Regions from separate parts of the Homo sapiens genome. Here region 1 is linked to region 2. Evidence: promoter capture Hi-C in 16 types of primary human blood cells and fetal thymus (Javierre and others, 2016). All regions are on one chromosome and are shown on one strand. The core of a region is centred on a gene start or on the middle of the fragment in contact, and the rest is flanking DNA. Distances in the headings are between cores, read along the strand shown. Region 1 has its middle 110 kb from the start of ZPLD1. Region 2 holds the start of NXPE3 (neurexophilin and PC-esterase domain family member 3).

Region 1 (4,005 bases), core at 1,229-3,728, 760 kb after region 2:
TACATCTGTAATAATGTAATCATCACAGAAACTCTCTGAGGCAGTGCTATTATTTTTATTTATGTTTTCCAGATAAATAAAATGAAGCATCGAGGGGCGAAATTACTTGGTAAAAGTCATCCTTGCTAGTAAATTTGGCATTTGAACTCAAGCATTTTGCCCTAACCAATATGCTCTACTATCTTTATATAATGTTTACTAAATTCTCCATTGCTGGCCATTATCTTCAGACAAGCGGATTTGGGTTACACAGGAGCTTCAGAAAGAAGACATAACTGAAGACACTGTTATATTTAGTAAATCAATATACATTATCATACTAAAGGCTTCCCAGTAAATAAATCTGCTTAACTCTGTTTAATTCAGAATTTCCCAAATGTACTTGATCACAGAACTAATGTATTGAGCACTGGCTATTGCCACTCCAAGAAGCTAGTGTTTCACTGAACATACTTCTCAAATTCTTGGGGAGAAAAATATATTGACCTGGGTGTCAGGGGGCCCACATTTTGGTTCTGATTTGGTACTTTTTGTTTACATAGCTTTGGACAAGTCAGTATAGATTTCTGGGATTTCACTTCTTTTTATTCTTTTGTTTTCTTTTCTTTCTTTCATTTTATTTTATTTTATTTTTTGAGACAAGGTCTTACTTTCTTGCTCAGGCTGGAGTGCAGTAGTGCAGTCATAGCTCACTGCAGCCTCACTGTCCTGGGATTAAGCAATTTTCTCAATTTATCCTCCTGAGTAGCTGGGATTATGGGCATGGATCACCACGCCTGGCTAATTTTTATTATTTTATTTTGTAGAGCTGGGATGTTGCTATGTTGCCCAGGCTGGTCTTCAACTCCTGGCCTTAAGTGATCCTCCTGCCTCAGCCTCCCAAAGTGCTAGGATTAGAGGTGTGAGCCATGTCTGGCTAGATATTTGATCTAGTAAAACAGTGTCCAAGTTGATGCGGTGACCAGTGACATGTGAGCTTTAAGGACTAGGCTTGTATTTGGAAAAAGTGAAAGCAGAGATACAGCTATAAAAAGTCTAGACAATTAAATCCAGTTCTAAGCAAAAAGAGAAGAAATAGAACCAGGAAAATTCTGTATTGAGAGATTTTCCTTAAGCATTTGAGTACTGGCATCAAAGAATATGTATGATAGATGATCCACAAGTATTTGTTTGGGCTCTGAATTTAGCCTTCATAAACATGGGGACATCACTGATTTCCATGCTACCTCAGATCCCTACTAGTATCTTTCTCCAATTTGTGACCCACAATATCCAACCAGTTATTTTCCATCTATCTTGTTCATGTAGTACCTTGACCAAATTGTAAAGGAATAACTCAAGCAGATTAGACAGTTAGTCTTTGGCCAGGTGAATAAGACAGAAGAAGATATTTCAGGCAGAGAAAGTAGCATATGCAAAGGCTCAAGTGTAAGAAAGAGTAAGACAGGTTCAGTAATCTTGGGACAGTGCAGACTGGTGGAATGTGTGTTCATGGGATTTTTGTAGGTGTGGAGTTTGACGAAGAAGGATTCCAGAGAGAAGTGACTGGAAATATAAGCTGGGTTTGGGTGGTGGAGTATGTTCCATGTGCTATATTCAGGATGCCTCTCCCTGCATAGACTCAAGTTTTAGATATATCTTAATAGGAGTTTCCAGAAGTTAAGCATAAAAGGAAATCCCTTTATTCTGATGAGATTCCATGACTCTTTATGTGTCTTGGGAAAATTAGGATATAAGCTAGAGTATAAGTAATAACCCAATTCTGTTCTAATAGAATAATTCAATTATCCTGGTACTGTCATTGGATGTATCATGAATTTGCAGGTGTATGTTTATTTTCATAGAAATAATTTCCCATCTTTCTATAAAGTGATAATTTCTACAATAACATCCTGATGATATTGGCTGCCTTATAATTAAGTCTACTCTACATGACGAGGTTCTTCTGGAACTTTTGAATCTGGACGACACCAGAATAAAAGAGAAATATAGGCTTTAAATATAATTGTTGTAATTTCTGAAGACCACTGGTTAAGGCAAATCTAGTTAATGCATAGGAAATCTTGATTTATACGACATTCTCTACCTGGTCTCAGCCTGTCTATTCAGCCTCATTTATCCCTATCCATTTCCTTCTTACCTCACAATCTCACACACCTGCTCTCTGCCCACTTTGTGTCCTTCACTATTTCCCAAAAATTCCTGCCCATTTATGCTAAGCTTTGAACATGCTATTTTCTCTATCTGCTGAAGGTAAAGACTTACCTTTGGCAGCTATAATAATATTTTGCTACAATCTAAGTAATTCTTGACATCAATTGCTTACTGTCAAGAGGGTCAGTTATTATTAATCTTGCAGTTTGGTGGGAGAAAAGAAATTGAAGAGGGATGAAGAAAGGGGACTTATCCCTCAACTTCTTTTTTCAGAGATAGCCTCTGTATTCCAAATTTATGACTAGTAATTTAGAGGAGAAATATTCCTCAGTAAAATGCACCTGGAAGAAAAAAGAGTAGGGGTAAGAGGAGAGAGGGATGAAGGAAGGAAACAAGGAGGAGGAAACTACTCTGGGTACTTTGCTTTCTGAGCCAGTAAACATAATCTCATTTAATCCTTGCTACAATCCTGTGATCTTAGAGTACTAATTCCATTTTACTTTTAAGGGAAGAATATCCAAAAAGTAGATAATATTTCCAAGGTTATGTAGCCAACTAGATAATGGAGTTAGAATTTAAATCCAAGCTTTTAAGACTCAGAAGTCTACCACTCTTACCAAAGGCTCTACTTAGTGTCTTATTACAGTAATGTAAAAAAATAAATGGGATCAAGATATTATTGGGATGGTAATTGTAGTCTCCTGATTTACAGCCCATTGTTCTAGCCCCATCCCATCTGAACTATTGTCTTTTGGATAGGAAGGTTCATGTCTTATCTGTAACCATCAACACTGGCCATCTATACCGGGTGTGGCAGCTCACAGCTGTAATCCCAGCACTTTGGGAGGCCAAGCTAGGTGGACCGCCTGAGCTCAGGAGTTTGAGACCAGCCTGGACAACATGGGGAAACCCTCTCTTTACCAAAAATACAAAAAATTAGCTGGGCGTGGTGGCACGTCTGTGATCCTAGCTACATAGGAGGCTGACGTGGGAGGATTGCTTGAACCTGGGAGGTGGAGGTTGCAGTAAGCCAAGATAGTACCATTGCACTCCATCCTGGGCGACAGAGGAAGACCTCATCTCAAAACAAACACACACACACAAAGAAAACCCCATAAAAAACAAAAAAGAAACAAACAAAAACCCAAAACAAAATACAGCCATCTACTTAAGGCCATCTACTTAGTTATTTGGCATATGGCATTCCTTATATATATATTTTTGAAAATGATTTAAAGTCCTACATAATTTTTGACTACTTGGTACAGAGTATCCATCATAGATAATTCTTGACCTTAAAATTATTGTAAATTCAATGCCTTGCTGTTTATAATGCATTAAACTAAACTAAACTAAACAGAATGGGCTAAACTAAACAAAATCCCTGTTAGGCTGGGAATTTAATAAGTCACATTTTAAAAGTCCCTGAAGCTCTGAATTATTTGGTTATAATATTTAGAATCACTGTGAAACTGTGTTACAAAGTAAGGATAATGGAGAGAGATAAAGGAAAAGGAGGAGGCTTCTATAATGTTTAAGGTGGTTGCAAGAATAGTGACGTCTAAGAATAAGCTTGGATGTCCTACAGCATCAGACAATGGTAGTGCAAAAAGGAATCCTGTAATAACAACAGTTTAAAGGGAAAAATCGCTTCACTTTACCCCATCCTGGTCTATATAAGATGTTTGATCTTTCCAGTTGACTGAAGTAAGCTCTTAATAGAATCCTTGATAACAAAAAGGAATGAAGTAAGGGTAAGATAAATGCTTTTAAAACCACCAAAATTCAAGTGGGCAAGTGATATAAGGGTTAATTCTTTGCTGTTAAATTTTCTAATGAACTTGGCAACAG
Region 2 (3,573 bases), core at 790-3,289:
CAAAGGAACTGAATGAGGAACTGACTTGGGCTCAGGAGTATGCATGTAGGCCTCCGTGAAAACATCTGAATGAACACAGAGTCCACTGTGGTCAAGAAATATAAAAATACTTAATGTGCTTGTGCCTCAAGCTTCTGCCATCAGGGACAGGTTTATTTGCTTTTATTTGTCTACTCTTAAGATCTATGCTTTGTTTTGCTTAGAGAATCAAGTTTAGCATTAATAAACACTAGTGTGTAAACTACATTTTCAGATGGGGCAGAAATGACCAGTTCCTTTGGTTTCATATCATCATATAAACATTTTTTTATTTTTTGAGACAGGGCCTCACTCTGTCACCCAGGCTGGAGTGCAGTGGCTGCTCTTATTTGTGGTTATGACTGTAAAATATAGGTAAATATAGGTAAGATCACTCAAATGCCTCAGGGTTATGAGTGCTTGGGGGAGAATGGGGTCAATGAGGTCCAAAACCATGACCTAGAAGTCATCTTGTCCTAAGTATTTTACCACTTGTAAGACAGCCAAGCTGTACATGAGGCGGGGGATCCTACTGGGAGATAAAGCATAATCAGAGCAGAAGTCTAGTATATGAGGCTCTTCTTCGATAGCAGAAGGAAGCTACCCTTTTATGTCCTCAAAAGGTCCCAGAGTGCTGTATTTCCTCGAGGAAGAAGGAGTATCAGATCATTACTACAATGGTTGAACTAGTTTACAGTCCCACCAACAGTGTAAACGTGTTCCTACTTCTCCACATCCTCTCCACCACCTGTTGTTTCCTGACTTTTTAATGATCGCCATTCTAACTGGTGTGAGATGGTATCTCATTGTGGTTTTGATTTGCATTTCTCTGATGGCCAGTGCTGATGAGCATTTTTTCATGTGTTTGTTGGCTGCATAAATGAACACTTGGACACAGGAAGGGGAACATCACACACCTGGGCATGTTGTGGGGTAGGGGGAGGGGGGAGGGATAGCATTAGGAGATATACTTAATGTAAATGACGAGTTAATGGGTGCAGCATACCAACATGGCACATGTATACATATGTAACAAACCTGCACGTTGTGCACATGTACCCTAGAACTTAAAGTATATTAAAAAAAAAAAAAAGAAGATCATTACTACAGAAGAGATCTTCCACCCTGTGGCAGAACTTCCTTTTATCCCATTCACGGATCTGGTTGCCCACGAAGCAGGCCTGCCATGAAAACATCTGAATGAGCATGCAGAGTCCATTATGGTCAAGAAATGGAAAAATACTTAGTTGTCATGTACATTAATTATTTTTCTTAAACCTTGGGGTAATAGTCCGGGGGCAGGCCTGCTTTTGGGGCCTGTGTTAACCCCACTGTGCTCCAAGCACAGAGAAACACGGTGCAGCCCACAATTCCTTCTGGTTTCTTGAACAAGTGTCTTCTCAGGACTCCTCTCAGTTCCTGAATTTCACAAAACTGCTACCGACGTTTTACCAGTTAGAAAAATGTCCAAAATAGGATAACCCAGAATTGGGGATGGTGGAGGGTGAGGAAAGTATGCTTTGCCAAGAGACCGACATCATGTACAGTGAGAGTAAAAGGAACGGGCTGTTTTACTGGCGAGTAGAAGTTGTTGACTAATGTCAAAGCAAGGAAAAGATTCAAGGATCCGCTATATCCGTGCTTATACTTGGCAAATCGCATTTCTCTGGTTCAGGGCACAATAAATTCCATCACTCCACAGGAAAGACTGCCCTACTAGAGTCAACTGCGGTTGTGGGCACTTTCGCTGACAAGCGAAAAGCCTTGAGGTAGGTGGATGCTCCCAGGAAACTCAGACGTCCGAAGTTCACGAGGAGTTGGGTCGTGAGAGGGGCCAGACCTCGATCCGCGGGGCGACAGCTGCAGTGTCGCGTCGCGAGCAGGAGCTTGGCGGCGTAGAGCGCCAGGGTGCCAACTTCGCTTCCAGGCCTGTGGGTTCCGCCCGGCGCGTGCTGCTGTCAGTCAACGCCCTCGGCCCGCCCCCGCCGAAGCTCCACCAATCGTAGCCGGGGGTCGGAGGTGAGGAGACGTCGCCGGGTGAGGAAGCGGGGGGCTAGCGGCCTGGCGCTGCGGCGACCGACCGGGGCGTCAGGATCCCTGGCCCCCGGAGAGCGAAGGGCGGGCGGGTCCCGGAGGTGAGTGCTGGATGTGGTCTGTGTGCGGACGTCGGGAGGGGCCGCTGCGGGCGGAGCGACCCATTGCCCGGCTCTGCCAGCGCGCTCCTAGACTGCGAAGCCCCTCCCTCCGCGCGCATCTGCTCCCGAGTCCCCAGCCCCGTGCTGATAGGTGCAGCCCCTGGAGTCGTGGCTGTGGGCATAGGTGCCAGGGAGGGGAGGCCCGGGTCGAAGGCATAGGCAGAATTGGAGCCCTGGGTTGCCAAAGCGTCGCAGCTAAGAAGCCGGAGCCCAGGCTAGTACCGGCGGGGCGGGGCGGGGCGGGGCCGGGAGCGAGCATCTCCATCCTCAGTTTCCTCCACTTGCGGCAACGCCACAGCTCGGTACAGTTCGGACCTCCACGCCGCAGCGAAAGACTTCTGTCCTCCAGGCACCTTCACTAACCCGGTGCGGAGCACTTGGCGACGCCTCCCTGCCCATCTCATATCTCTCGGCTCATCGCTGCTCTGGGCACCAGCTGCCTCTTGGCTGGCGCTGCTGTCACACGGTGGACTGTTCTGGCCTTACTGAGCTGCCGTTTGGGGACATCAGATTCAGGTCGTATGGGGAGAAACGAGTGTAACTTTACAAGGTGTGATATGGAGACCCTGGCCTGTTGCCCATTTCTGCCTGATCAAAGGCCACTAGGGTGGTAATAAGAGGGGTTCCGAGGCAGGATTTATGCAGCATTTGTGCAAAATTGTAAATTTTCTTTGCTTTTCATTATTTACATTAAAGGGGGATTGTTGCCACATTTCCTAAAGATAAAGAATCACACTGCTTTGGTGGGCCTCCCCGCTCCTCACTGTGGTTAATTATCATTTGGAACATCAGGATATATTTGAAACTGGCAGGACTCCCAGACCCTGATAATTGTTTGGAGGCAGCAGTATACTATTTCTCCGTAGTGTTTGGGTTCTGCTTTTCTTTGAATTTGTTTAGTATTTTTTTTTCCATGTCTGTTATCCTCACAATCTCTTTGGGGCCAATAGAGTGCTGTTATTTGTTACTGAGAAAGGAAACGAAGGGATAAATCACTGAAGTGGGGTTAGCCTTCCCCATTGCCTGGGAATTGGGTTGTCCTGACCTGACAATTTAAGTTACAATTCAAACATCATTTTGGAAAGGCCATCCTTTTACCAACTGAAACGAATAACAGTCCCTGGCCACTCTATACTAGTGGTTCTCCCACTTGGCTGTATGTTGTAATCATCTAGGGACCTTTTTAAAAAAAGCTACTTCTTGGGCCTATTCCTACAGATTCTGATTTAATTGTTTGAGTGGGGCCCAGTTGTTTGTATTTTAAAAAGCTTCCACGATGATTATTAATGTTCATGCAGGGTTGAGGACCACAACCTATCAATGTGTTCAATATTTAAAAAATAGCACTTAGTACAGTGTG

The links. The method cuts DNA at HindIII sites, captures the fragments that hold promoters and counts their contacts. A CHiCAGO score of 5 or more calls a contact.
Region 1: a contact is called between a fragment that was not itself captured here and the fragment with the promoter of NXPE3 in region 2, in 5 of 17 cell types (naive B cells, M0 macrophages, total B cells and 2 more). The highest score is 7.5, in naive B cells.

Annotation. Positions count from the first base shown.
Region 1 is chr3:102,538,985-102,542,989 of GRCh38, forward strand. No RefSeq gene overlaps it. Among named protein-coding and RNA genes, the nearest start is that of ZPLD1, 110 kb to the left of the region's middle. The HindIII fragment of the contact is 520 bases long and covers 2,219-2,738 here.
Region 2 is chr3:101,777,172-101,780,744 of GRCh38, forward strand. It overlaps NXPE3 (neurexophilin and PC-esterase domain family member 3), which reads left to right and starts at 2,040. Exons shown (of 8, transcript NM_145037.4): 1 at 2,040-2,153. RefSeq lists enhancers at 1,854-2,148, 2,713-2,762 and a silencer at 1,953-2,302. The HindIII fragment of the contact is 3,350 bases long and covers 130-3,479 here.